4 separate regions of the Homo sapiens genome follow, and regions 1, 3 and 4 are each linked to region 2. The links are contacts of gene promoters, found by promoter capture Hi-C in blood cells and fetal thymus (Javierre and others, 2016). All regions are on one chromosome and are shown on one strand. The core of a region is centred on a gene start or on the middle of the fragment in contact, and the rest is flanking DNA. Distances in the headings are between cores, read along the strand shown. Region 1 has its middle 49 kb from the start of GEMIN8. Region 2 holds the start of GLRA2 (glycine receptor alpha 2). Region 3 has its middle 89 kb from the start of MOSPD2. Region 4 has its middle 150 kb from the start of MOSPD2.

Region 1 (6,645 bases), core at 2,443-4,942, 450 kb after region 2:
TGTTATTATTTTCAATAATTCTGTCAAACTCATCTTAAAAGATCCTTCCCGCTATACAGGCACTTTGGTATATTTAAATTTTCTAGTTGTGATAAACAAGTGGTAACATGTGTCGTTATGATGGGTTATCAGTAAAACAGAGTGAAAAGCAGCACTTTGCAAATTATTTTCGGATCTGCCTTTAGAAAGTTTGCCCACAGGTAGAAAAGGATTACAGTGAATCTCAATTCAAATAGCTGATGCAAAATGTTATAGCTAAGGCAGTGTGTAACAAGACCAATAAACATTCCTATATATTTTGAACAGTAATTATACACTAAGGAGTATATTTTTAAATTAATCAGCAGAAAACAAATAGTAAGCATAAAGGTGTTTATGCATCAATAATCAAAGTAGAAGAAAACTAAAAATAACGTATGCCTAACAGAAGAATAGTTGAAAAAAGTCACAATATTTCAATTTAAATACCATTTGGCCATTAAAAACTATCATACTAAAGAAATATATAATACAAGAGATTTTGAAATACCATGAAAAATGCACAGTTAAGTAAATAAAGATATATATATACATATGTGATGCAAATGCATGTGTATATATACAGAGAAAGACATAGGGAAGTACTCAAAAATTGATATAATCAGGTTTTTTCTCTTTTTAAAAATTTAATGCTATTTTATATTATTTTATAATAAATGTTTATAAATTGGTATTTAAAGCACAATTATGACATATTTTGTTTAAAATGTTGACTGTAATAGACACAGTGCTAAATTCCTGACACAGATAATTTACCCTCTAATTTAGTCAAACCTCCGAGGAATCCAATAATAATTTAAGGCATATTCTGCTACATCTCTCACCATGCTGGCATACAAACACATGTATGTGGGAAAGAGGGCCTATTTTTTTCTACAAAACTTATACTCTACATCTTCCCCTGAAGACAGTTTTCTCCCCTTACTTGGTAATATATCACTCCATCTCTCCAGGTCAATATACATAATTTTTCTAGTAATAATTCACACTAAGAATTTGCACAATGAAAACGGCCATTTTTCTATTGTGAAACATTCAAGTTGTCTCCAAGTTTACAGCTACAAGAAAAAGCTGCCTGGATATACATATACCTTACGTTATGGTATGTTTAATTTAATAGGATACATTCCCAAAGCTGGGTTGCTAGATCAAAGACATATCCATTTTTAAAATTTTGACAAATATTAAAAGATAACTTTCCATAAAGGTTTTTTCATTCACCTTCCCATCAGCAATACACAAATGTCTGTTTCCGCAAATTGTTACTAATACTGAATGTTACCAATCTTTTAGGTTTTGCAATTGGACAAGTTAAGGTTGTTTCTCAAATCCACATTCCCTTGAATATTAAGGAGATTAAGCCACCTTTCATTTATTAACCATTTGCATTTTTCTATAAATATGAACATTCTTTTTTATTGTGTCATTTTTCCAATGTATTTGTGCAGGTTCCTTGTAAATTGAAGGTATTAACGTTTTACCTGTCATATGACTGCACATATTTGGCCCAGTTCATTTGTCTTCTCGTTGTTTTATTATACATTCTTGCATTAAGAAACATTTTTAAGTTTGTACATCTATTGATCGTTTTCTTGATTCCCTCTAAGTTTCCCAACTTGATTCCTAATCTCTACTCACCCACAAGTTTACAGAAACAAATATTTTTCTAAATTTTCTTCTAATATTCATAAAGATTTGATTTCACATTGAGCTATATTAATTCACCAGGTATATATTTTTATAAATGGTATAAGGTAGGCATTTATATTAGTTTCCTTCCAAATGGATAGCAAAATTATACCAACATAATTATTTATTTTCCTATTGAATTATAGTGCCAGATTTTCCAAGATTAACTTCTATATTATTGGATATGTGCTGAGGTTCTATGTCCCATTGTCCTGGTTATTATTTCTTATGCCATTGACATTTTGTTTTCATTACCATAGAATTATTATAAGTTTTATCTGATAACACAAGATCCTTACCCCAATTATTCTTCTGAAACATAAATTTTTTTGGCAACTATCATTTCTTCTGCCTATAATTTTTCTCATTCTAAAAATGTCTTCATTTGGATTCTGATAGGAATTATTTTGCGTTTACATATGCTTGGCAAATAATGACATTTATATAATAATGTCATTATTTAATAATTAATGAATGTCAGTATTCTAAGTCTTCCCAACAGTACATGGTGTGTTTCTTCATTTATTTAGGTATTGTTTCATGTCCTTCAACAAAATGTTAAGTTCCTTACTCTTACTATCTGATATAATGTAGATATTTTATAGCTTGAAGTAATATTGTGAATTAAATTTGTTATCCATTTCTTACAAGTTAGAAACTGATGTTTTAGACATGTCTTGTGCCTTGTTCCTACACGCATAGACAAGACCAGTTCAGCAAGAGGGCCAGTCTAGATATGTACCAGTAAGTGCCTCATCCCAGCCAGGATACCCCTCATCTATCTTGGAGTCATATGATTTACATTTGGTTACTGAGCAAAGAATAATACAGAACACTCAGGCATGAACACAAACCCCATTCATCATGCCCAATGTCTGCAGTCTGCCAGATCAGCCTGGTCTAAGTACTGTTCTGGTCATAGTTCTGTGCAACTAGAATGAGGGAAATTTCCCAGAAGTACCTGGGAGCATTGCTAACTAACCAGCCCTAGACTGGCTGTGGCAAGCTTTCATATAATCATTTGTTGAAAAGTTCCTTCTCTGTTGGTTTTGAAGCTATTAAGTATGTTATATGCGTGTGTGCATGTGTGTGTTTACTTCTAATATAAAACCATTTTGGGGATCTATTATTAGGGGAAAAATCAGCAACCTGGTCAAAAATTCATTTTAAAAAAGACTAAAGACATTTCACCTAAATGTCTAAAAACATAGAAGTAGTTAAATAAGCTATGGTACATCCTTCCAGAGGAATATGATATATCCATACAAAGAATAATTTCAGTCTATATAAAAGATATTTCAAAGAACATTTCACAGTATTGCAAACGCTCATGCTAGCATATTAAGTTCAAGAGAAATCTTTCAAAATTGCATATATAATTTGATATGCTTTTAGAGATAGAACAGAAAACAAAATAGGAAGTGTATACTAATATGCTATATGCAAAGGGATCAAAGTACTTTTCATATGTGTAAAGGAATTATACTGCTTTTTATTTTCCCAATTTTTACAATAATCATAATTAGGAAGAAAAAACTTTAAAGGATGCACTGTCTTTTACATTCATACTTATAGGATGATTCGGGCTGTTTGGACTTTCACTTAATCTTTTTTTTTTCCTCATTTACAATATGTATTAGTTTCCTAGGGCTGCCATAACAAAGTACTGCAAACCAGATTGCTTAAAACATCAGAAATGTATTATCTCAGTTCCTGAGACTGAAGTCTGAAATCAAGACATCAGCAGAGCCACGCTCCCTCGGAAGGCTCTAGGACAGGGTCCCGCCTCACCTATTCTAGCTTCTGAGGCTTGCCAGCAACGCTTGGTGTTCGTTGGTTTATAGATGTGCCATTCCAATCTCTGCCTGCGTCTTCACATGGCTCTCTCCGGTGTCTGTGTCCAAATTTCCTTCATCTTATAAGGACACCAGTTACTGGAGTAGGGCCCACCCTAATCCAATATGACTTCTTCCTAACTTAATTACACCTGTGAAGACCGTGTTTCCAAATAAGGTCACATTCACAGATTCTGAATGTTAGATTTTAACATATCTTTAGAGAAGACACAATTCAACTCATAGCATCCCACCCTCTTGCCCATCAAAATTCATGCCCTTTCCACATGTAAAATATGTTGAACCCATTCCAACATCCCATCTCGGGGATTTGGGGGTCTCTCTCTTTCTCTCTCTCTCCTAAATTCTTGTGATTGAATCTGTAAACTAAATGCAAACATGACTATGTCCAACTACTGGACAACCAATGCCAATATAATCAGATCTTTATGAGACTGAAATTAAAGCAGAATGGTCAGCCCAGACCTTTGCTCCCAGAAAAAAACCACTATTTCTGTTAGTGATATAAAGCCAAGGGTGAAGTCCTCACTTGGCAGAAGCCCTCATCTCTCTCAAAGAACTGTGGAAAAAATTTTATCAAGGGCTTCATGGGCCAGCACGAATAATGTGGATTTGCTATCTGGGCCACTAAGCATTACTTTGACTATTTGGCCACCAAGCAGTTCTCCCAGATTTTAAAATCATACTGTTTAGCCAAATGTTTCCATGTCTGCAGAAAAATTAATATCACCCCTTCAGGAAGGGGGTTATAATTCACAGTTCATTCCTAACAGCAGCATGAGCTAATTAGCCAAACTCAGAAACAAAATAGAGTAGTTTTTATTTTAAATCTATTTAATAAATATGATATCCATAGCTGCTGAGGAAATAGCCACAGCTAGGATATTATTATGAACGTAAGTTAGCAGAGCAGTTTGTCTAACCCACAGGTAAGCAAGTTTTTAGATTTTTTTAAAACAGAAACCAAAGTTGTCAAGGCAAAAATTACATGCAAAAATGCTGAGGTATTGGTACAGAGCCAGGAAAGTCAAGTTTTTGAAAATTAAGTCAACAGATTACAAGCTTGGATACAAGTTACAGGTTTCAAGATTGATGGAAATATGTTGCAGTGTACCAGAAATTAGAGTAAACTCCAAGTCAGGAAGCACTAAAATCCACCCAACTGCACAAATTCTATGTAGCCTTGTGTAAGCAAGGCAAATGCTCCAGGCAGAACCAGCTTCATAATTTGTGAGACCCAGTGCAAAATCAAAATGCAGGGCCCGTTGCTCATAAATAATTAAGAATTTCAAAAAGGTTGAAAGAGAACATTAAACTAAACACAAGGCTTTTCTAAGCACAAGACCCTGTGTGACTGCACAGCTTGCACATGTCTCCAGGTTTCAATTTTTTAATCAGTGAAATGGGAAAAATCAAGATTATATGTGCCTTGCCTCCTTCTTGGAGTCATTGGGGTGACAGAGATAATATTAGTAAAAATGTTTTGCAAGTTTTAAAGTTCTTTATTCAGGCCAGACATCATGGATAGATAGCATGAAAACATAAGTAGGGGAGTCCCTTGGAAACCCCCTGCCCACTAACAGGAATTTAATAATTTAATAAAGAATAGCCAAATACTTCACCTATATTTGGTGCTTTATAATTCACAAAATTGAGATTGAGTCCACTCTAAGAAGTTTTCACTAAATCAAAATAAACCAGTTCACTAAATTGTAATGTGATTCCTTGGATTGGATGCTGGAACAGAAAAAGGATATCAGTGGGGTAACTGGTGGAAACCCATAAAAACTCTTATGTTACTGTTAGTTAACAGTAACATAGTGCTGTTAATTTTTTTGTCTTGACAAGGCACTAGAGCCATATAAGATTTTAACATTACAGAAACCTGGGTGAAGTTTGTGCAGGAATTCTCTGCACTATCTTTGAAACTTTTCTGTAAATACAAAATTATTCCAAAATAAAAAGTTTGACTAAAAAAATAAAACTAGTCCAGTTTCTGCGTAACTGGGAGGAAATGATGATTCTTATTTACTTGATGGCAAAATAATGATTAGCTTCTTTATTAGAATATAAAAACCTCTCCTAAGTTATCTTAGATAGCTGTTTAAATTACATGTACCTAGATACAGAAATTTGATAGATAGATAGATAGATAGATAGATAGATAGATAGATAGATAGATAGATAGATAGATATGGGGAGGGAGTGGGGGGGAGAGGAAGGGACAAGGGAGAAAACATAAATGGATGATGGATAAACAGAAAAATAGAAATGGCTTCAAGTTTTACTGTGCAGGTGTATACTATACATTTGAAATATTTCTAATTTACCCAAAGATTCTTTAATTCCACAATCTTCTTCCTTTAACAGGCATCACTTTATATTTTCTATTAATGTTTTTCTACTTGCAAGATTAATTCCTGCTTATTCCAAAAAATACAGAAACAGACAATCCTCCCAAAATTATCTATAATCCTATCCCTGAGAAGTCGACCCAGTCAACATTTTAACTCATTTTCTATTACACCCTGTGTGTGTGCATGCATGTGTACATCAAGCATCCTGTAGAATAATGGAGGCCATTCTGTATAAACTGGCATTTACAAAATTACATTTCATGGAACATTGGGTTCTGGCGACAAAAAATTTGAGGACATGGTGTACCATATTCTCCCTCTTGAAGATTCACTCTGCAAAATAGCATAGTAAAAGCTATGCTGCATAACTTTTTAAACTCAGATTTTTGTCAATGTATGAAATTCCATTATCCAACAGAATAATCCTTGGGAAACTCGAGTATATATGGTTCTGTTCCAGATTTTTTCCACTTGATATGATGTTATGAGTATTTTCCCGTGTTACCATAAATTAATCGCAAATATCATTCTCATGGCTACAAATATCACATCATATAAGCATACCATTATTTATTATACCAGCAGTTGGCAAAACATTTCTGAAAAGGACCAGGTAGCAAATATATGAGGCATGATGGGCCCTATGATCTCTGTCCTACAAGTCAAGTCTGTTGTTCAAGTGTGAAAGTAGCCATAGACACCGG
Region 2 (6,840 bases), core at 23-2,522:
ACTATTCGTAAACCATGTAGAAAATGCAAGCATGAAAATAGTAATTTCTCACTTTTTAAAATTATGCATGCTCCACTTCTCATATGTACATAAATACAATTATGTCATATTAACTAAATTTTGGTAGGCAATCCATTTCCAAACAGATTGAATAGTAGAATATAGTAGTAAAAAGAAATTTTTGATATTTCAAGAAAATTCCTGAATTGTAGTCCTCATAGTATGCTTCTAGTTTCTGAAATATAACAGAAGTCCCAAGTTGGCTGAGAATTAGGGATCTTTTATATTTTATCTAAAATGAGCATGCTCCTGCCAAATTAATACAATCATCTTATATGAAAAACACTGCACCCAATAATCTCTTTAAATTACTTTCAGAAAAATAATTACCCTTATATAGAAATGTAAAGAGCATGCAACTCATCAGACTACCTTAATATCACGTTGGCTGTGAAAATGTGTGTTGAATTGCATAGAGTGCGGCTATGCATCATAAAACTTGCTTTTGTGAAAAATTTACCACCCTCCCACAATTATTAGGCGTTTTAAATGAACAAAAGATATCTAACTTTCCTCTATAAAATTAAAATAATATAGTCCAGAGCACAGATAAATACACAATTACATGACACATTCTCTTTTAAACAATTTAAATATCAACATGCAAAGTCGTTTCACCTACCTGAAGTGGTTTGTCTCTAAGAAAAATGCAAACAAGGCTGTCAAAATGTTCACTAGCTGCCGGTTCATTCCTGTTTCTGTGTTGCTTGTGGAAAATATCCCGAAATGATTCCAGAAAGATGCTAGGACAAAGTGTCTGTTTATTGTCCAGATTCAAAATTTGGCAGGAACCTAGTTTCCTTGAAAATCAAAAAGAGATTTGGTTTTGTACAGTTTGCTGAGAAAAAAGAAAAAGTGCCAGTCCTGGGCATCATGGTCAGGTCAAACCGAGGCTTGGGACCATCAGTTAACCCAGAAAGACAAAGCCTCAGAACTGATGAATCCCCCAGCTGCTTTTCCTGAATAATAAAAATGCTGCTACCTTAATCGCATCACCATGCAAAGGGAGTTGGTGACAATGCCATGCTAGATAGCTGTGGCTTTTGTTTTATATCTTTTCTGTTTAGCAAAGCCCTTTTTCTAGAAAATGTTTTCTTTTAAAAAGAAGTTGTAAATGAGAGAGAAGAAAGGACTCTGCGCGCTGGAGTGGGTGGGGGGAAGAGGGAAAAATTGCTGAGATCCTGTGCTGGAATGAGGGCTATAGAATGAGACGGAGACGTGATCTTACCCAGCCTATAAATTTCAGCACTCGGACAGCTCCAAGCTCTGAAGTGCGCATGTTTCCTTTTTCAGTTGCTTGGGGCGGGGGTCGGGGAAAAGCATTCAAGAGGGGACGTGCCTGCTGTTCGAAGGCAAAGAGTGACTGGCCGTTCAGCGAGGGGATACTGAAGGGGGTACGATGACAGCAAGAGGAGAAGAGAGGTCGGGAGACGGAGAGGGTGAGGGAAGTGGGGTCTGAGCTCCTGGAAATGCTAGGCTGTCGGTGGGTGGGCGGGACGGGAATTTGAAGCAGAAAAGGGAAGGGAATAAGGTTTAATCGTGGGAAAACGAAATTGGGGGAAACAGAGAACAGGATTCAGAGTACTGAAATTATAATAAGGGTGTGGACAGTTCACTCTTTGTCAGTGCAAGCCGGAGGCAAAGAGGAGTCCTGTGCCGAAGAGAAGGGAACATTTCCTTGGCACAGAGAAGCCCGCGTGCAGAAGAAGGTTCATGAAGATCGATAATTTAATTTAGAAGTCCTTTATGCCTTCCTCGCCTTTTTAATGTTTTCATTTGATTTTAGCCGCCTAGTCCCAAAGGATCTCTCTACCTCTGTACTAGGGAAAGCCCCTTCCAACTGAGCTTTCTTCAGTGGCTCAAAATCCTTGGGCATCCGCAAGTCACAGATTTGTAGAAAAGGAAATGAGACAATGGGCCGGCAGGGGGCAGTAGCAATCTTTTCTTGCCATGGTTAAAGGTTAGAGCAGGGCTCCATGTTAGAAATGGAGCAAGGAAAAGTGCAACTGGGAGTTTAGTTCATCTGCCCATTCCAGATGTTAATCACTAGGAACAGTCATGTAATAAAGTGCATATGCTATTCTCCTAAATTGGCTAAAGGGACTGAAAATAGTGGAAGTTCATAAATCTGTACAAAAGTCTGACGAGTAACCCTGCTATTTCAAATCAAAATTACAAATATTATTATTAATAAAAAAGAGGAAGGGTAGATAGTCCAATGCGGATAATTAGCAGCTTCTGGGAAGGGGGAATGAAAAATGCATGTCCTACCATAAGCTAGGAGAGTAACCTACTTTTTGTGGAATATTCCTTGTTAGTCACCTATGTGCTTTACTGGAGGTCTTAATTTTAAAACAAAATAATATGATTAATTTTTACTCCGTAAATGACTAACTTTGGATCAGTTTAAATATCATAGTAGAGTAACAATGAATTCTATGTTTTTAAGAAGTAGATTCAGAGAAAAAAGATGGCAAGTTCTTTTTACCTTTTAATGTTAATATAAATCACCAGAGGATCTTATTGAAATGCAGATTATGATCCAGTAGGTCTGGGGTGGGGCCTGAGATTCTGCATTTCTAAGAAGTTCCTAGCTGAAGTTGATGCTGCTTGTCCACAGTTCACACTTTGAGTAGCAAGAGTCTATATGCCCTTTCATAAGATGTCTATCCCAGTAAGACAGTGAAAATACAGGAATCTCTTTTTAGATGAAATGCAGTAGTGCCCAAGCATTCTATTTACATACAAAATCAATTCTTCAAATATGTTTTCTTAACTTTCAAAGCCTAGAGAAAATGATTCAATTTAAAAGAAAAACAGTATGGTGTAGTGTGAGACATCCCTGGACTGCAGCTTCAAATCTGTTCACTTCCAAATTCATCCACATGGAAACTCTAGACCTGATTTTATCCCTGCTGTCCTGACCCAAAAAAATATATAAAATCAATTCCTGGAAATATTTCTTCAATTGGTTCTACATGGAAAAATAGCACAGATTTTTTTGTGTTCAAGATTCTTTCCAAAAGAAAATTAGGTATAAAGATAGAAGAAAATTATTTCTCTCAAATTTAAGGTTGTAACGATGCTTAAATAATATAGTCTTTGTAAATCATTTCTCTTTTTTTTTTTTTCCCGAGATGGAGTCTCACTCTGTCACCGGGCTGGAGTGCAGTGGCGTCATCTCAGCTCACTGCAACCTCCACCTCCCGGGTTCAAGCGATTCTCCTGTCTCAGCCTCCTGAGTAGCTGGGACTACAATCACATGCCACCATACCCAGCTAATTTTTGTATTTTTAATAGAGACAGGGTTTCACCATGTTGGCCAGAATGGTCTTGATCTCTTGACCTTGTGATTCGCCCACCTCAGCCTCCCATAGTGCTGGGATTACAGGCGTGAGCCACCGCGCCCAGCCGAATCATTTCTTTTAACAAGAGTTGTGTTATTAACCAGGAATAGGATGAGTAAGGAAATCTGTGACAAAGGAGACTCAGGCCAGCAGCATGAAATCACAGCATTATATTATTGTAGAGTTGTAAGGGACATTAGAGAGGATCTAGTTTAGCCTCCTCATTTGATTTCTCAGCTCTCCTAAATTTGGATTCCAGCCCTATCAATCCACAGAAACAGCTCTCACTAAGTCTGCCAGTGAATTTCTTGTAACTAAGTCCAAAAGACATTTTTCTGTTCTCATCTTACTTGACATTTCCATGGTACCTAATGTCATTGGCCTTTTCTTCCTCCTGGAAACACTTCCCTCTATTGACCCTGTGACACAGTGCACTCCTGGATTACCTCCTATTCTGTCTTCTTGGCAGGCATATCCTCCTCTACCTGGCCTATAAAAGTTGGATTTCCTAAAGGCTATATTCTAGGCTGTCTCCTCTTCTTGCAGTACACTCGCTTAGAAAATATTATGGTAATATAATTTCCATTATCATTTTATGTACATGACACAGAAATGTATATTTCTACCCAGACCTATACATCCAACTGCTTTCTAAACAATTCCTAATGTATGTCTCAAAAGCTGCTTAAACTCTTCATGTCAAAACCGAACTTCTGATAATTCCTCCAACTCCTACTCCTATTCTACTGTGTCTATTTCATTGTTACCAACCAAAGGCCAAGGCATCATCTCCATCATCCACTATATCTAGTTCTTCACCAAGCCCTATTGATTTTTTTCTCCTAAATCTTCTCACTTCCCTCCATCTCAACCTCCATGACCCCAGTTGAGATATCTTTATCTCTTGCCTGTACTGCTGCAGCCATCCTCTTACTAATCTACCTGAACCAACAGCTGGTCTTCTACTACCTCATCCTGTATGCTGAAACCAGAGTGATTTGTTCAGAATCAGAATCTGATTATGTCACAGCCCCTGGTTAATACTATGGTTCTCCATTGATATTTGTGTAGAACAAGGAAACTACTCAATGACCTAAAGGTTCCACATGGTTTGGCCCATGCCTACATTGTTCCTCATCTCATCCACTAATCATCTCATTTCTTCCCCTGTAGCCATATTGGTCTTTTTTCTTACTCCCTAATGCTTACCGTATTGTTCATGAAGTATATCATGTCCCCCATCTTTGTCTGGTTAACACCAGCCTATTTTTCAAATCTCTGGAAGGCCTTTCCTGACCTGCATTACTCTAACAATTCTATTACAGGCCTTCATAGTGCTCTCCAACTCTGACTCAAGGAGCTCGTCATCATTGTATGTATACATGTGTATGACTGTTTGCTTATGTAGCAAGCTTTGCAATGGACAGAGACAGTACATGCTTTGGTCCACCATTATATCCCCATACATTCAATGATAATGACAATCATCATAATGGTATTGATGATAACTAGTATATAATTTTAAATATATACCAGAAATTTGTGGCTTAAACAAAATAATATAAGTACATATGTATAGTCCACAAATAGTTCTTTCAAAAAACTACTTGTTAGGGAATTAACAAGTTAAGATCTGTGATTATTTGAAAGGAAACCAAGTTCAGTGGCGCAGCAGTCTAAAGCATAAAATTAAATTCAAAGTAAGAGATTATTAATTCAATATCCTTGATTCGAGTTCTACCTCTAACACTCATTGGTTATGTGACTGGACAAGTCATTTAATCCCTCTCAGTGTCATTCTCATAATATATAAAATTTATATAACATAAAGTGTTACATAATTACATAAACACATATGTTACATAAAATATTTCTATGTAGAATACTCTTGAAAATCACGTGAAATCAGACCTGAGGATGTGTTTTTAGAGTCTTAATCTCATTTACTTAATTTATTTAATCTCATCTACTTACTGTTAAAATTCATGTTTTAACTTTGTTCATTGGACAATTCCACTTTCAAGGACAGTAAGATTTAGGAGCTTTGAAAAGGTTTTATTTGCAATGCAATGGAAACTGAAGTCTAATTCTCCTATGCCTCTAACTTACCAAACTGTAACTGGTTGAGGTATGTGGAAACCTTATTCTGTACTCTTTTTACAAGAGAAATGAAAAGATTGTGACCCATCCTATGTCATAAGGACCAACACACAATATTTGGTCTATATCATGCTACATATTAAACTTTAAAAAATAGATATAAAAAATAAAAACACTTTTCTTAACATCAGTATCATTTACTGATACTGATAAACCTTAAGAACTCTAACATATACATAATGCTTTATAGTTTTCAAAATACCCACATTATATGGCAGAAAAATAATTGATATCTATATATTTTAATGAGGAATCTATAGTTTGTGTAAGTTTATCAATTTTCTCAGGTCTATATGATTAAGTGACAGTCATACTTTTTATATTTACTACCCATCAACAAAATTATTTCTCATTACGTGTGATTGCTGTTATTTTTTAAGTCACTGAAAGCCTACTATATGCCCACAACTACTTTAATAATTATGTTTTTGTGATTCCATTACATTAAACTTTGGTTACTATTATATTAAGATACACACACACACACACACACACACAAATATGTTGAATGGAATGCCCACATTAAGAGTCTCAGAGTCAATTTCCTCAAAGAAAGAGTCAAAAGATATCCAATATATCAATATCCTGTGTCAGGACTTTTACTGAACGGGTTTCCTACAGAAAAAACGTCCTCCTCAAGTACAGACATTCTTTCCTCCACTTGAAAATATGAAGAAGTTAAGAAAAGACTATTAATTTACAATAGACACCCACCAAATAGAGGTTTGAGGCAAATTAGAGAAGGCAAGAAGTTGTTTTTACCAAATCTTTCGTTGTTAGAGATGCTTTCCCAGAGAACAATAAAGACAATTTCACCTTGATAAAATGCACCTCCTGAATTTTATGAGAGATTTGTCTCAAATAGACTCTCTTCTCACTATAGGGCCATAGATTAAAATAGATTTCTAGATGAGAAGACCTCTGGCATGAGGATGCATGGCCATTATGATATTTACTAAGCCATATGGCTTGTGATATCAATATTAACGATTGCCATTTCTTAACTACCTATAATATTGTATTAGAGTTCTCCAGAGAGACAGAACCAATAGGATATGTATATATAGGCATACCTTGTTTTATTACAATTTGCTTTATTGTTTCACAGATATTGCATTTTTTACAAACTGAAGATTTATGGTAATCCTGCATTGAGCAAGTCTGTTGGCACCATTTTTCCAACAGCATGTGCTCACTTTGTGTCTTTGTGTCACATTATGTGACTGAATTGCTGCAATCTCATGATAAAACTTGAATGGATGATGAGTTGCTT
Region 3 (7,265 bases), core at 2,537-5,036, 430 kb before region 2:
TAAAATAACTGGATGCATAAGAATTTGAGTTTGGCACTTGTAGCCTCTCAGCACTCTGTGAAGAAGTAAGCAACATAGGGGCCATTATACAGAGGTCATATTTGGGGCCATTATACAAAGGTCATATTATACAGAGGTCAACATAGGGGCCATTATACAGAGGTCATATTATACAGAGGTCATATTTGGCTCATTTGTATAATAGTGCATCAAAATAATACTGTGCCCTTTTTCTTCTTCACTCATAACCTCACTTTTCCAAAGTGATTACTTTCAGGCCAGGTGCAGTGGCTCATGTCTGTGAGCAGTGGCTCACCAGCACTTTGGGAGCCCAAGGTGGGAGGATTGCTGGAGGTCAGGAGTTCAAGACCAGCCTGGGCAACATAGCAAGACACCCATCTCTACAAAAAAAAAATTGTTTTTAAACATGAAAACTTTTGATGGCTAAGAGGAAGGACTTTTGATTCAATAAGCCTAAGTTCAGTTACAGTATTTTCTATTCCAGCATTTTCTAGCTGTGAGATTCTGGGCAGGGTATGTAAACAGCTATTGATTTCCTTATTGGGAAAGTGCAAATAATAGTAGTGACCTTACAGATTTGATATAAGAAATAAGTAAAAGAATGCATGCAAAATATTGGTCCAGTGTCAAAAATATAGTAAGCACTCAATTAAACCTAACCGTTAGTATTATTTCTGCAAATAAGTTCAGTCATATGAAGTTGCCATTTTTGCTTGTCAATAATGGTCAAATATCAGCACTTTCTTCTAGTTCAACCTAATGCACACCATGAAAATCTTTCTAATCTTGAGACCTGGTGGTTTACTTTCCAAAGCTTTGATTTAATGAGCTGGAAGCCTGCACCTGCTTTCCTAACCCTTAGCAACATTTAGAATTCTCTGAACCTAAAAGCATTTGTCATCTTGTACTATTTCTTTCATTATTGGGAGCAAGGCTCTTCTGTGTCAAATTCCCCCTGTGAGAATCTGGGTTTTTGCTGTTCTTACCAAGAGATGGGCAAACTACAGCTATTGGCCACATTGGTTGCCACCCACTTTTGTAAATAAAGCAATGTTGGAACAACAGCTATGCTTGTGGGAAAACACTGTTTCTCTACACTCACACAACCCTTCTGACCCCAAATATGTGGATTTTTTCCCACACCAAATAATTCTGCAATTCTCTGGACACCAGCTAGATGTCCTACAATTCAACTCAATTCTGACACTACCTGGAGTTAGTGTCAAATCCCACAAGTTAAGGGCTCAGTCCCATAAGACTATGCCCACCTCAAATGCCAGTCACAAGTCCAGCCATCCACACTTCTGGACGACCAGCTATAAATTGAGGATTCCCACGGCCCACTCCTCAGGTTTGATAATTTGCAAGGGTGGCTCAAAGAACTCAAAAAAAAGCACTTCACTTAATGTTTACCAGTTTAGTATAAAGGATACAAATCAGGAAGAGCCAGATGGAAGAGATGCACAGGGCAAGTTATGGGGTAAGGGGGCACATGGAGCTTCTGTGCCCTCTCTGGGTACACCAACCTCCCAGTACCCTGATGTGTTCACCAATCCTGACATTCATCAAATCTCTTTTTTCAAGAGTTTTTATAGAGCTTAATCTCCAGCTCCCTCCTCACCTTCCCAGAAGTCTGTGGCTGGGGTAAAATTTCCAATCAGTTGGTTTTTCTGGTGACCAACCAGCCCCATCTTGAGGATATCTAGGGACCCCACCCTAAGTCACCTCATTAGAGTAAACTCAGGTCTGATTAAAAGGGGCTCTTTATGACTCACAAAAGACACTCCTATTACTCAGGAAATTCCAAGGATTTTATGAGCTCTGTGGCAGGAACTGGAGACAGAGACCAAATCTATTTCTTATTATACCACAGTGCTTGTTTATTCATGTATTGGCTATGGCTGTTTCTGCCCTACAGCAGCAGAGCTGAGTAGTTGCAACAAAGAGAGCATGGTTCACAAAGCTGAAAATGGTTATTTTCTGGCCCTTTACAAAGTTTGCCTACCCCTGGTTTAGACTACAGGTTTGCAAATTAGAGTACACACTTCTCAAGATCATAGTTCAGGGGGAAAATTCAAACTTCTATTTAAGATTATTGTTCTCTAAAAAAAAAAGGGAAGGGAAACAGGATTTTCTAGTACGTCACATAAGGGCTTACACTGGCCCCCTCATTCCTTCCATCTGTCCTGTCCATGAGACATCTGGAGAGAGTACTGGAATCCCACAATGAGGAGGAATGGTCAGTGGTGCCTCTAGTTTCATTTTTTTGCTATCAGTGTATGGTGACAGATGGCCTCTGCAAATGTCTGTCTACAGATTGTATTATCTAGTGGTAACTGACTTAAATCTCTGAAATGTATAAGTGGCTTTGAAAGATACCAGTAAACAATAATATTAATAAGATAATACTAATAATGCAAGCATCAGAGAGAAAATAAGATTTACATCAGTCACATGAGTAATGAAAATCAATCAAAGCTGATGAAAAATCAGCTAAGAAAAATTTAAAATCATCAAGATTACCTGAAATAAGGGTTTTCATACAGTATGATTAAGAATGGAACTTGTTAAGCATCTATCATGTTTAAGATATTAGTGAATTAAAATATGAAGCATCCTAATTAGCAAGACATTTAGTATCTATTTTTCTTCACCTTTTTCATATTAATTTGCAAATTTGCTTTTATTTGTAATGTACATACTATATTAAACTATACTATAAGCATATAATTTAAAAATAAATACATAACCGAACATATAACAGTAGGTGGGTACTCAAATTTCCCTTTATTTTCTACTTAGATCAGTGCACAATGAGTCGAAATTGGGCACCGTTAGTCTAGGCTTCCATATAGTGGCGCTTCTTTTGTATTCCACAGGGAAGGGATAGAAGCAGAAAAGTTTCTGTGGGATGGAGTTCCTGATGGCATTATTGAGAGTTGTTTTGGCAAAAGTGGTGCTGGGAAATGAGTAAATGATGAAAGAAGTTCAGACACAAAGTTTAGTTTAAAGGAAACGGAAAAGGGGGCAGTTTCTAGGAGTGAACGTGAGATAGAAATGGAATTAAAGGAATTTTTTATTTTTTTCCATACGAAAGAGACTTGATCATGATTAAAAGCTAATAGAGCTGGGCGCGGTGGCTCATGCCTGTAATCTCAACACTTTGGGAAGCTGAGGCAGGCAGATCACTGGAGGGGAGGAGTCGGAGACCAGCCTGGGCAACATGGCGAAACATCCCCCCCGCCCCCGACCGGCCGTCTCTACTAAAAATACAAAAATTAGCTGGGGGAGTGGCGCATGCCTGTAGTCCCCATTACTTGGGAGGCTGATGCAGGAGGATTTCTTGAGCCTGGGAGGCAGAGGTTGTATTGAGTTGAAAGCCCGCCACTGCACTCCAGCCTGGGTGACAGGAATGAAACCTTGTCTCACAAAAAAAAAAAAAAAAAAAAACGGTAATAGAGCCATTGCTTAAAAATTAGCTGTGTTTTGGCTGGGCGTGGTGACTTACGCCTGTAATCCCAGCACTTTGGGAGGCTGAGGTGGGCAGATCACCTGAGGTCGGGAGTTCAAGACCAGCCTGGCCATCATGGAGAAACCCTATCTCTACTAAAAAAATACAAAATTAGCCAGGCATGGTGGTGCATGGCTGTAATCCCAGCTACTAGGGAGGCTGAGGCAGGAGAATCGCTTGAAGCTGGGAGACGGAGGTTGCAGAGAGCCGAGATCATACCATTGCACTCCAGCCTGGGCAAAAAGAGTGAAACTCCGTCTCAAAAAAAAAAAAAAAAAATTAGCTGTGTTCTAATATTAACACCATCTTATTCACATATTATAACACTGGACCTCTTAAATTGTTAGACAAACTTCCTGTGGTCCCTGTGTGTGGAGGAAGAAAATGGGTTGAAATTGTTAAATAATAGCACATGCTGTCTAGTATATGTATATATATGTATATATATATGTGTGTGTGTGTGTGTGTATATGTATATATATGTATATATATGTGTGTGTGTGTATATATATATATTTCACTATTCACATCTATTTAGTATTCAGCAAATATTTATTGAACATGTACTATGTGCCATACCCTGAGAGATGCTTGGGATACAGAGGTAAACAAGATCAACAAGGCCCCACCATATATTCTTGTGGAGAAAACAGACTGTAATCAGGTTAAAATAAATAATGTGATTTTAGATAGGGTTAAGGTCTCTGAAGACAATAAAGCAGGGTAAAAGTGTAGAGAGATTAAGATATCAGGGGTGGGAGCATTTGAGAAGGGGTAATCTAGGAAGGCCTTTCTGTGAATCAATGGTGGTCAGAGGACTGAATTATAAGGAAGGGGGCATCCCCTGGGAGGAGAGAATTTCAGGGAGAAGGACCATAAAATACAAGTATGATACAGGAACAATCTTAGCGAGGAAGCCAAGATTGTCCCCAAAAAAACTGAATGAAGAAATCAGGGAAAGGCCTGATATTGGGGAAGTGGATGGTGGCCTGGTATGTGATGTACCATGAAGGGCCTGCCAAGGGATTTATTAAGTGTACTATAGGAAGTCATTGGATGGTTTTATGCAGAAGAATGGCATAATTCTACCTGTACTTTGTTATAAACCTTGCTCAACTTTTGCCAGTAATATCTTTCCCACTCCAACTTTAATGAAGAACCAGTTTTGTTCTAAGGGTCCAGCTGTCTATCATAACAGATTTTCCATGGGATGGAGTCTTGCTTTTCTTGTTCTTGGTGGCCAATGAGTGCAGCTTTGGAGAGAGTTATTAGGGTGTGTGATTCTATCATGATGTCTGCCTCTTGCCAACATCCGTTGAAAGCAGTCAGTTGAAGGGTGACATGAGCCACAGAAACTTAGTGGCACTTTGCACCTGATTAAGTCAGGAGAAATGCTCCTGGCAGTACCAAAATGTCCATCACCTGCTCACTTGCTGATGCATGAGGGAGAGAGGGGAACCTCCAAGAAAGGAGTTAAACATAAAATTCAATTCAACTTGATATTGTATCTGAGGACCCATGAGGTCAAATCAACCACAAAAGAGATTCCTGATAATCCCAGGCCAGATACTTGGTGTTTGTTAAGAAGCTGGCATAGGCCAGCCATGGGGGCTCATGAGTGTAATCCCAGAGCTTTGGAAGGTTGAGGTGGGAGGATCACTTGAGGCCATGAGTTTGAGACCAGTGGGCAACATAGCCAGACCCTGTCTCTACAAAAAATAAGAAAATTAGCCAGGCATGATAGCACATGCCTGTCATCCCAGCTACTGGGGAGGCTGTGGTGGGAGAATCACTTGAACCCAGAAGGTCAGGACTGCAATGGGGTGTGATCACAACTCTGTACTCCAGCCTGAGTGACAGAGCAAGACTCTGTCTCTAAAAGAAAAAAAAAATTGAAAAAGAAAAAAATAAATTAAAATTTTAAAACCCATAAATATATATACCTACTATGTACCCATAACAAGTAAAAATTTTGAGGTTGAACCTTTAAAAAAAATAATAATAATTTTAAAATAAAAATTTAAGGCCAGGCATGGTGGCTCACACCTGTAATCCCAGCACTTTGGGAGGCCAAGATCACCTGAGGTCAGGAGTTCGAGACCAGCCTGACCAATATGGAGAAACCCCATCTCTACTAAAAATACAAAATTAGCTGGGCGCGGTGGTGCATGCCTGTAATCCCAGCTACTCTGGAGGCTGAGGCAGGAGAATCGCTTGAACCCAGGAGGCGGAGGTTGCAGTGAGCCGAGATCACACCACTGCACTCCAGCCTGGGCAACAAGAGCGAAACTCCGTCTCAAAAAAAAAAAAAAAAAAAAAATTAAAAAGAAATGACATCTCACAGAAAGGCATGTAAACCAGTGGAATAGACATTGGAGTGTGAGCTACTGGCTCGGAATGTGTCAAAACATTTGTAATAACCCTTTCCTACCTAACCTGGTTTTGTTTTATTTTTATTCATTTTGCATAAAAGTTTGCCTCTCACTTTGGCTTTAATCTGTTGATGAGAAGAGATGCCTCAAAGCTGGCTTCTGGCACTGTTGTGGGGCTTTTACAAGGGAAATCTTTGAGTCATTGTAGTAAAATATCTACAGAAAAATTACTGGACCCAGAAATTATGGAATGGCCTGCAAAATCTCAACAGAATGCAGAGGGTGCATGTGACCTGTCTAAATTCAGCCTAAGAATGCAGATGATGCTTCTAACCTCAATGTTTCTGATTTTCTACACCATGCAAAAGGTAGTTCTTCTGGAACTAGCCTCAGGCATAGATATGTGTTTAATGATGGAATTATTCAGTTTAGTAACTGCTATGGTCTGAGTGTGTCCCCTGAAAATCCATATATTGAAACATAATCATTAATGTGATCATTTTAAGAGGTAGGGTTCTTAGGAGGTGATTAAATCGTAAGTGCAGATCCCTCATGAATGATCTGTAGTGTGAGGTGTGAGGGAGCTGTTTGCCTCTTCTACCATGTTAGAACACAGGAAGAGGGTACCATCTAGAAGAAACAGTCCCACACCAGACACCTAATCTGACTACACCTTGATCTTGGACTTCCCATTCTCCAGAATTGTGAGCAACAAATTTCTGTTGTTTGCAAATTACCCAGTCCAAAGTATTTTGTTGTAGCAGCAGTAGAGACTAACACAGTGACTGACATGGAATGTAGTGGGCAAGGGAAATGCTGGAGGGGCAAGCTTATATAGACTTCTCAAGACCTCTTTCTCTGTGTGTTGTGAAAGATGATGGCTGACAGTTAACAAATACTATTTTTTTGAGATATTATAGGGTTCAACTATAATATTTCTTAAGGTTTACAAGCCTGCTCAGTTTATTCTCAAAAACTGTTTCTCTTCTTTCCTGGAAGAATAAAAGCACACTCCTTCAGTTTTAATAATCCTGATAACAGTCCTGGAAAAATGAGTTTTAAAAATATACTGCCAGGCTGGCAATGGGAAGTGGGAATCTCAGGAAATGAGGAGGGCTCAATCTGGCTTTCACAGTGAGGATATCTGATGATCCTCAAGTTCTATTTTAGAGGTTGCATGGGATCAGGGGAACAGAGAATAAAGCCTAGGGAAAACTAAGGTGAAGAGCTTAATAGGAGATACGGAAGATCTTCAGGATCATCCATAAAACTAGGATCCTGAAGAGCTTCACCTGCAGGGTTAGGATGAACAAGAAATAAACCTACAATGCAAAGAAGACAGTTAGAAAACTTACCTGCCT
Region 4 (6,736 bases), core at 803-3,302, 490 kb before region 2:
TATATATTATATATTATGTATTATATACAATATATATTATATATTATGTATTATATACAATATATATTATATATTATGTATTATATACAATATATATTATATATTATGTATTATATACAATATATATTATATATTATGTATTATATACAATATATATTATATATTATGTATTATATACAATATATATTATATATTATGTATTATATACAATATATATTATATATTATGTATTATATACAATATATATTATATATTATGTATTATATACTATATATTATATATTATGTATTATATACAATATATTATATATTATGTATTATATGCAATATATATTATATATTATATGCAATATATATTATATATTATATGCAATATATATTATATATTATATACAATATATATTATATACGATATATATTATATATTATATATTATATACGATATATAGTATATATTATATATTATATATTATATACGATATATAGTATATATTATATATTATATACGATATATAGTATATATTATATATTATATACGATATATAGTATATATATTATATACGATATATAGTATATATATTATATACGATATATAGTATATATCTTATATGTTATATACGATATATAGTATATATCGCATGTTATATACGATATATAGTATATATTATATACTATATATTATATATATTATATATATATTTGGATTTTGGAGGCAACACATTCCTCATTTGGGTGTGTTATTCTTGCCCATTTATCTGGACCCCACCCACTTTTTAGTGGGGTCCAGAACAGGAGAAGGCTTTGCAACAGGCCTAGGCTGTTGTGCAAGCTGCTCTGCCACTTGGGCCATATGACCCAGCAGATCCAATGGTGCTTGAGGTGGATATATATATATAAATATATATAATATATAATATATATATAAATATATATAATATATAATATATAAATATATATTATATATCTTATATCATATATTATATATATGAATTACATATATAAAATATATATATAAATATATATATAATATATATTAATATAATATAATATGTGTTATTATGATATATATTATAATATCATATTTAGTAGAGATGGGGTTTCGCCATGTTAGCCAGAATGGTCTCGATCTCCTGACCTCGTGATCCACCTGCCTCGGCCTCCCAAAATGCTGGAATTACAGGTGTGAGCCACCGTGCCCCGCTAAAATTTCAAATTAAGTGTTTCTGAGCTTAATTCTTCCTATCCCAAGAATATGGCCCAGCAGATCCAATGGTGCTTGAGTAGGATATGTATACATATATATATATATATATATATATTATATTATTGTATTATATTATATATATTTATTATATTATATATTATATTTATATTATATGAATATATAATATATATTATACAATTATATATATATTTATATAATATATATAAATATATAAATATATATATATATATATATATGAATGGGATGTCACTTTCCTGCCTACACTGGTCTGAAACTTTTTGCTTCAAGAAATCCTCCTGCCCTGGCCTCCCGAAGTGCTGGGATTACAGGAGTGAGCCACTGTACCCAGCTAATGTTCATTTTTTCTATCTCTTTTATTTTCTAGGAATTGCAGTCATTACATTTGGTAGGTGTGAACTATCATGTCCCTATCTTTATTGTAAAGTAAATCCCATGATTGAGGAATCTTCTATAGTCTCCTTACTGTTTATGTACTCAATCTGTGGTTAACATTCTTTGGTATATTATTTGTGGAAATTCTCAGCAAGAGACAAAACAGCCTCTTTCTACAGTAGTAGTAAATCCAGGAAATGAAAATACGATGTGTTATCAGCATCCATATTTGTCCAAGGATGTGGACCAAAAGACCAAAGTAATTTGAGTGTTCACTAGCAAAGAAAAGATAAGCTTTGTTCTGGGTAGAGCCACAATAACAACAATTAGTCAGGTTTCTATCAGGTTACATTCCACAAAGCATATCCAGGATGGTTTGATTAAAGCTGAAGCCTCCCTAAAGCTGCGAAGCTGAATTTAGATATAGAATTGCCTGAAGGTAAGACAATAAACTGAAAAGCAACTGTGATTCTATCTTAGTCTGTCTCACACCCTGCCTGTTTTAATTCTTCCCTCCTTGCCACTATCCCACTTTTTCTGGAATTTATCCCTACAAAGACCATTTTGGGAAGCTTTTGTTGGACAACACCATTCATTCATTCAGCAAACATTTATTGAGCACCTTCAGACAAACTGTCTTCCCACACAGATCTTACATTACAGTGATGGGGGAAGAAAATAAACAAGGAGCAAATAATACAGTTTTTAAAAGGGATAAGAACTATAAAGGAAAAAAAGAGCAAGATAGTGAGGAAGAAATTGAGGATGTGGGGTGAAATTTAGGTTGGTCATGGAAGGTCTACATAGCACTGCTCATTGCTCCACAAGACCTTACCACTCCTTTCTTTGCTTGAAGAATATTGGTTTCCCTCTAAAGCAAGTGTCCATATGCTTTAGTGAAAGGCAGGCCCATCTGCACCTCAAGGGTTAAATCTTAACTGGTTTGAGCCTATTGCGGTGGTTCTATCTCTTTTGCCAGTGATTGGTTTAGGACTGGGACAGCGAGGCAATCTTGGTCAATGAGATTCAAGGGAAAGTTGGCTGGAGACTTCTGGAACCATTGTCCCCCATTTTACACAAAGATATGAGGAGAATATATTGTCTCCTTCAGGCTTTAGATGTTTGAGGGGTGATGCTTGGAGCTTCACTTGGAGTGAAGCTAGAGGCTTCTTGCAACTATGAGAGGGAAGACTGAAGATGGAAAAGCAAAAAGATAGAAAAAAATTTTAGTCCCAGAAATCTCTGAATCACTTAATTTGTGTACTCTGGAGCCACACTACCTCCAGACTTCTTATTATGTGACGTAAATACGTTCCCTTGTTATTTAATCCATTTGAGTTAGTTTGTCTATTGCTTATAGTCCAAGGCATCTCTATAGAAGATAATATGTGAGTGGAGATGTGAATGATAGAAGAGCAATTCAATTGAAAGTCATCTTGCTCTCTCAGTTCATCACTATGTGATCTTCCAAGAGAACCACAGGACCAAGATATGAGGAGACCTAGATGACTGTTGTAGGACCCCAGGCATCTAGGCAATGTCTTGTTTATAATTGCCACATGGAGGAATCCTAGAGTCTGGAAAGCTTAGCAAAGTTCATGATTTTATAATTGGCTTTGTTGTAAGCATAAGTGATTTAAAAAATGTGTAAGATATTCTGGGTTAATGATAGTCCTGGGAGTCTGGATCCAAAAATGAACATCCTTTTGTAGTAAAAACTCAATGTTATCAAGTTCTCAGGACTGTTCAGATTTTATTGTACTTATCTAAGAATACACTCGTTACTGAAATTCCTATAAGAGATATGACTTTATTTCAAATCATAAGCTAACAACAGTCAAAGACTACGGGTATTCATACCTCAAATAAGAGTAGAGGTAATGCTGATTACATAGAACATATGGGAAATATTGAGGTTATGGAAGATAACCAGGTTATTATTCAAGTGCAGTCTACTCATAGGAATGCCATTTATTTACTTATTTATTTTAAACCCAACTCTCCAGATTTTAAAAAACTTAAAAATCCACTCATCTTTGTCTTTACTTATTTTTTGCAAAAGTAATATATGGATTCATTCTATGTGGACAAAATAAGACAATATCAAAAAAAAGGCCTTATTAATTCTCATGCACTCCTATATGCAGACATAATAATAATAATTAGGATTAATTGAGAACTTAATATGCACCAGAGATTGTTAAGTGCTTTTATATTATTTTATTTAATCTCATACCCACCTCATGTGGTTGGTACTGTTATTTTTCCTGTTTTCCAAATAAAGAATCTGAGGCCCAGAGAAGTTAAGAAACTTTCCCAAGATTCCTCATAAGTGATAGGGAGGGGATCAAAAGCTGGGCAGTTTAATTGCCGGGCACATGTTACTAAACTGGGTGCTTTTCTCCATTGATATAAATCCTCTTCATTCCTGTCATAAACATGAGTCATCTTGCATTAAGCATGTATGTAGGTGTTTGTATTTACTATTTTTTGACAGATTAGAAGTTGGTGAATAACAAATGCCAAAAGATACAGGGCACAAAATGGAACTCTGAGATGGTTGATGAAAGATGAGAAAGATGCAAGGAGGAGCAAAGGAAGAAATGATTGGGGAACAAACTAAAATGAATGAAGGCGATTAGAGAATTAAATGTGTAAGCACTATGATAATCATGGAAACAAGAAAGGATGCAATGAGGTGGTGACTCTATACAATTTCTGAAAGGGTCAGAGACTGCAGAGAAAAAGGGATTTTTAGCTCTCTTCATGCCACATAATGGTATTGTGTAGTTGTTTTGAATACATTTTATAGACAAAGATTCCTAATCCTGTGGTCAAATAGCCCTTGAATTCTAGATACTTGGCTGAATTGTACTGATTATTAGGTGATGAAAACATTGTACAGTGGAATCTACAACATGACTATTCCCAAGAGGGCAGTCTAAATAATGAAGAGGGCACAGTTCTATTCCTTGGCTAGTAACAACAGGCAATATCCATAGCAACCACAGCAGCAATCTCTTCATAAAACCTCATGTGTATTGTGTGTGTGCTTGTGTGTGTTTAGAATGTATTCAATAAATATTGACTATCGTGTTTAGAAAAAAAGTTATGAGAATAGGCCTGTGATAGACATCTATGACTGCCTACTCAAGACAATTCCCTCTTTTTCATACCTATCAAAACCCTAATTTTACTTAGGTAAAATTGAGTCCATAACTTGGGGGTAAACCGTGACGGATCTAAACCATAAAAGCAATCCTATTCTCTTTTGGTCAGCGATATGTTGAGGGATGAGTGTGTGACTCAGTGTGACAAAAGAAATGGAATGGAAAGTCTGTAGGGGAGCTTCTGGGGAAGCAAAATTTCAAATCTATGTAAAGAAAATGCTTTTCGCTCATCCCTCCACTTCCTGCTTTGGATATTGTCTTGAGGATGTTATATTTAGAGCTGGGCCAATATAAACAGGGAAGGTAAAGGCATGCTCCTTGATGACATCATTACACTGCCGAGCTAGTCCTGGATCACCTACCAACAGACTTCATGTAACAAATAGTAAATGTCTTCATGTTAGTTGGGTTTTCTGTGACTTGCGTCACCTAAAAAAGACATAACAAATGAAGAAGTGAATGGATGAATGCTGAACTACATTCATATAAACATACCTGAATTATTTATTGTATTTTTATGACTCATTATTATATCTTAAATACACATCATATTGACTGGCATTCAATCAATACTTATTAAAATTAATGAATAAATGATGAATGGAAACGAAAATACAAAAATCAAAATCTAAGATAAACTTTACTGGATAAACTTTGACGATTGTTCCATAAAATGATGTATTATAATGTCTAAGATCAGCAAGTATTCAGAGCTCCTGCAAATCGCCAAATACATTTTTTATTTGGCTGGATATATGCTAAATTTAAGAAATGGAATGCAAATAAGCAGAGACTAAAAGCTTTTGCTGGCTCTGACATAAGGTATTTTGGCAGAGGACAAACTCAATAGTGAAACTAAAGAATTCATCGTAAATTGAAAACACTGATCTAAAAATTCAGCTTACATCATCTTTTAATATATCTCAATCACCTAGAAGAATATATGTAGCATTGTGAGGGAATATGTTGATCTGTTACTCCCATTTGAAAATGAAATTCTTCCATATCAGTATTAATTAAATACTGCCTAAAGAAGCCAAGCATGCCTCATCCTTTAGTCTTTCCTGCTTAGCTTCTCAGCAGGTTGTTTTAGATTAAGAACTATACAATAAATCATTTGATGCATGTAATAATTTTTATATTATTTGTTAAATTTTTGCCAGCTAATACATATAGGTAATAATCATGATTACAGATCATGTGGGAGTGAAGAAAACATAAAGTGCAGAAGTTGACATATCTATCAACAATGGCCCCAAATATGAGTAGTCAGTTTGTCAAATTGATTATCCTTTTTAAAACTTATATGCTTATCCTCTCACTCTCATTTATTTCCTTCCCATAGGCTTTTAAATGTCACCCTTTAAAACAACAAAATAGTCACTCCTAACCTTACATCTTAATCTAGCCAACTTCAAATCTTCCTTGTACTCATCTCCAAATTTCCCGAGTTATCCATACTATTTGAAGGCAGATGAAGTCAGTGCCTCACCCAACTCCTCTAAGCACTCAGCTTCCAGTACAGTCCAGTGGCATCTTATTAGGTTGATGCAAAAGTAATTGCAATTTTTGCCATTAAAAAATACTTTAAGCAGCCAGGACACCCTACCTGGGGACTTCTCTCCAGTCTAGTGCAAGGCACTCCAGAGGGTTATGGGAATTTGTGCCCTTGGGAATATCCCTCAGCCAATGATGGGTGGGAGCTGGAGGATAAATATGCATGTCTTAGTCCCTGAGTGAGGACAAGCCTAACTCTGAGGTGTGTTCTACATTGTGTCCCAGAGGTCCCTAGCAGAGCTGAATCTCAGTTAACCCAGCAACAATCTGCTCAGTACCTCACCCTTTACTCTCTTCCTTCCTTTCCCTTACCTTCCCTTTTCACTTTCTCTTGCTTCCTAGGATTGCCTTTCCGCAAAAACCCACTTCAACTCAAATTCTTGTCCTAGGAT

What was found. Contacts are between HindIII fragments. The CHiCAGO score rates a contact against its expected background, and 5 or more counts as called.
Region 1: a fragment that was not itself captured here is called in contact with the fragment with the promoter of GLRA2 in region 2 in 4 of 17 cell types (M0 macrophages, M1 macrophages, erythroblasts and 1 more); the score reaches 12.0 in M0 macrophages.
Region 3: a contact is called between a fragment that was not itself captured here and the fragment with the promoter of GLRA2 in region 2, in 2 of 17 cell types (neutrophils and M0 macrophages). The highest score is 7.0, in neutrophils.
Region 4: a fragment that was not itself captured here is called in contact with the fragment with the promoter of GLRA2 in region 2 in 1 of 17 cell types (neutrophils); the score reaches 5.0 in neutrophils.

Annotation. Positions count from the first base shown.
Region 1 is chrX:14,076,068-14,082,712 of GRCh38, reverse strand. No RefSeq gene overlaps it. Among named protein-coding and RNA genes, the nearest start is that of GEMIN8, 49 kb to the right of the region's middle. The HindIII fragment of the contact is 1,912 bases long and covers 2,737-4,648 here.
Region 2 is chrX:14,523,968-14,530,807 of GRCh38, reverse strand. GLRA2 (glycine receptor alpha 2) reads right to left here and starts at 1,272. Exons shown (of 9, transcript NM_002063.4): 1 at 683-1,272. The coding sequence starts at 750. The HindIII fragment of the contact is 5,355 bases long and covers 1-4,821 here.
Region 3 is chrX:14,958,600-14,965,864 of GRCh38, reverse strand. No RefSeq gene overlaps it. Among named protein-coding and RNA genes, the nearest start is that of MOSPD2, 89 kb to the right of the region's middle. The HindIII fragment of the contact is 5,898 bases long and covers 838-6,735 here.
Region 4 is chrX:15,016,580-15,023,315 of GRCh38, reverse strand. No RefSeq gene overlaps it. Among named protein-coding and RNA genes, the nearest start is that of MOSPD2, 150 kb to the right of the region's middle. The HindIII fragment of the contact is 278 bases long and covers 1,914-2,191 here.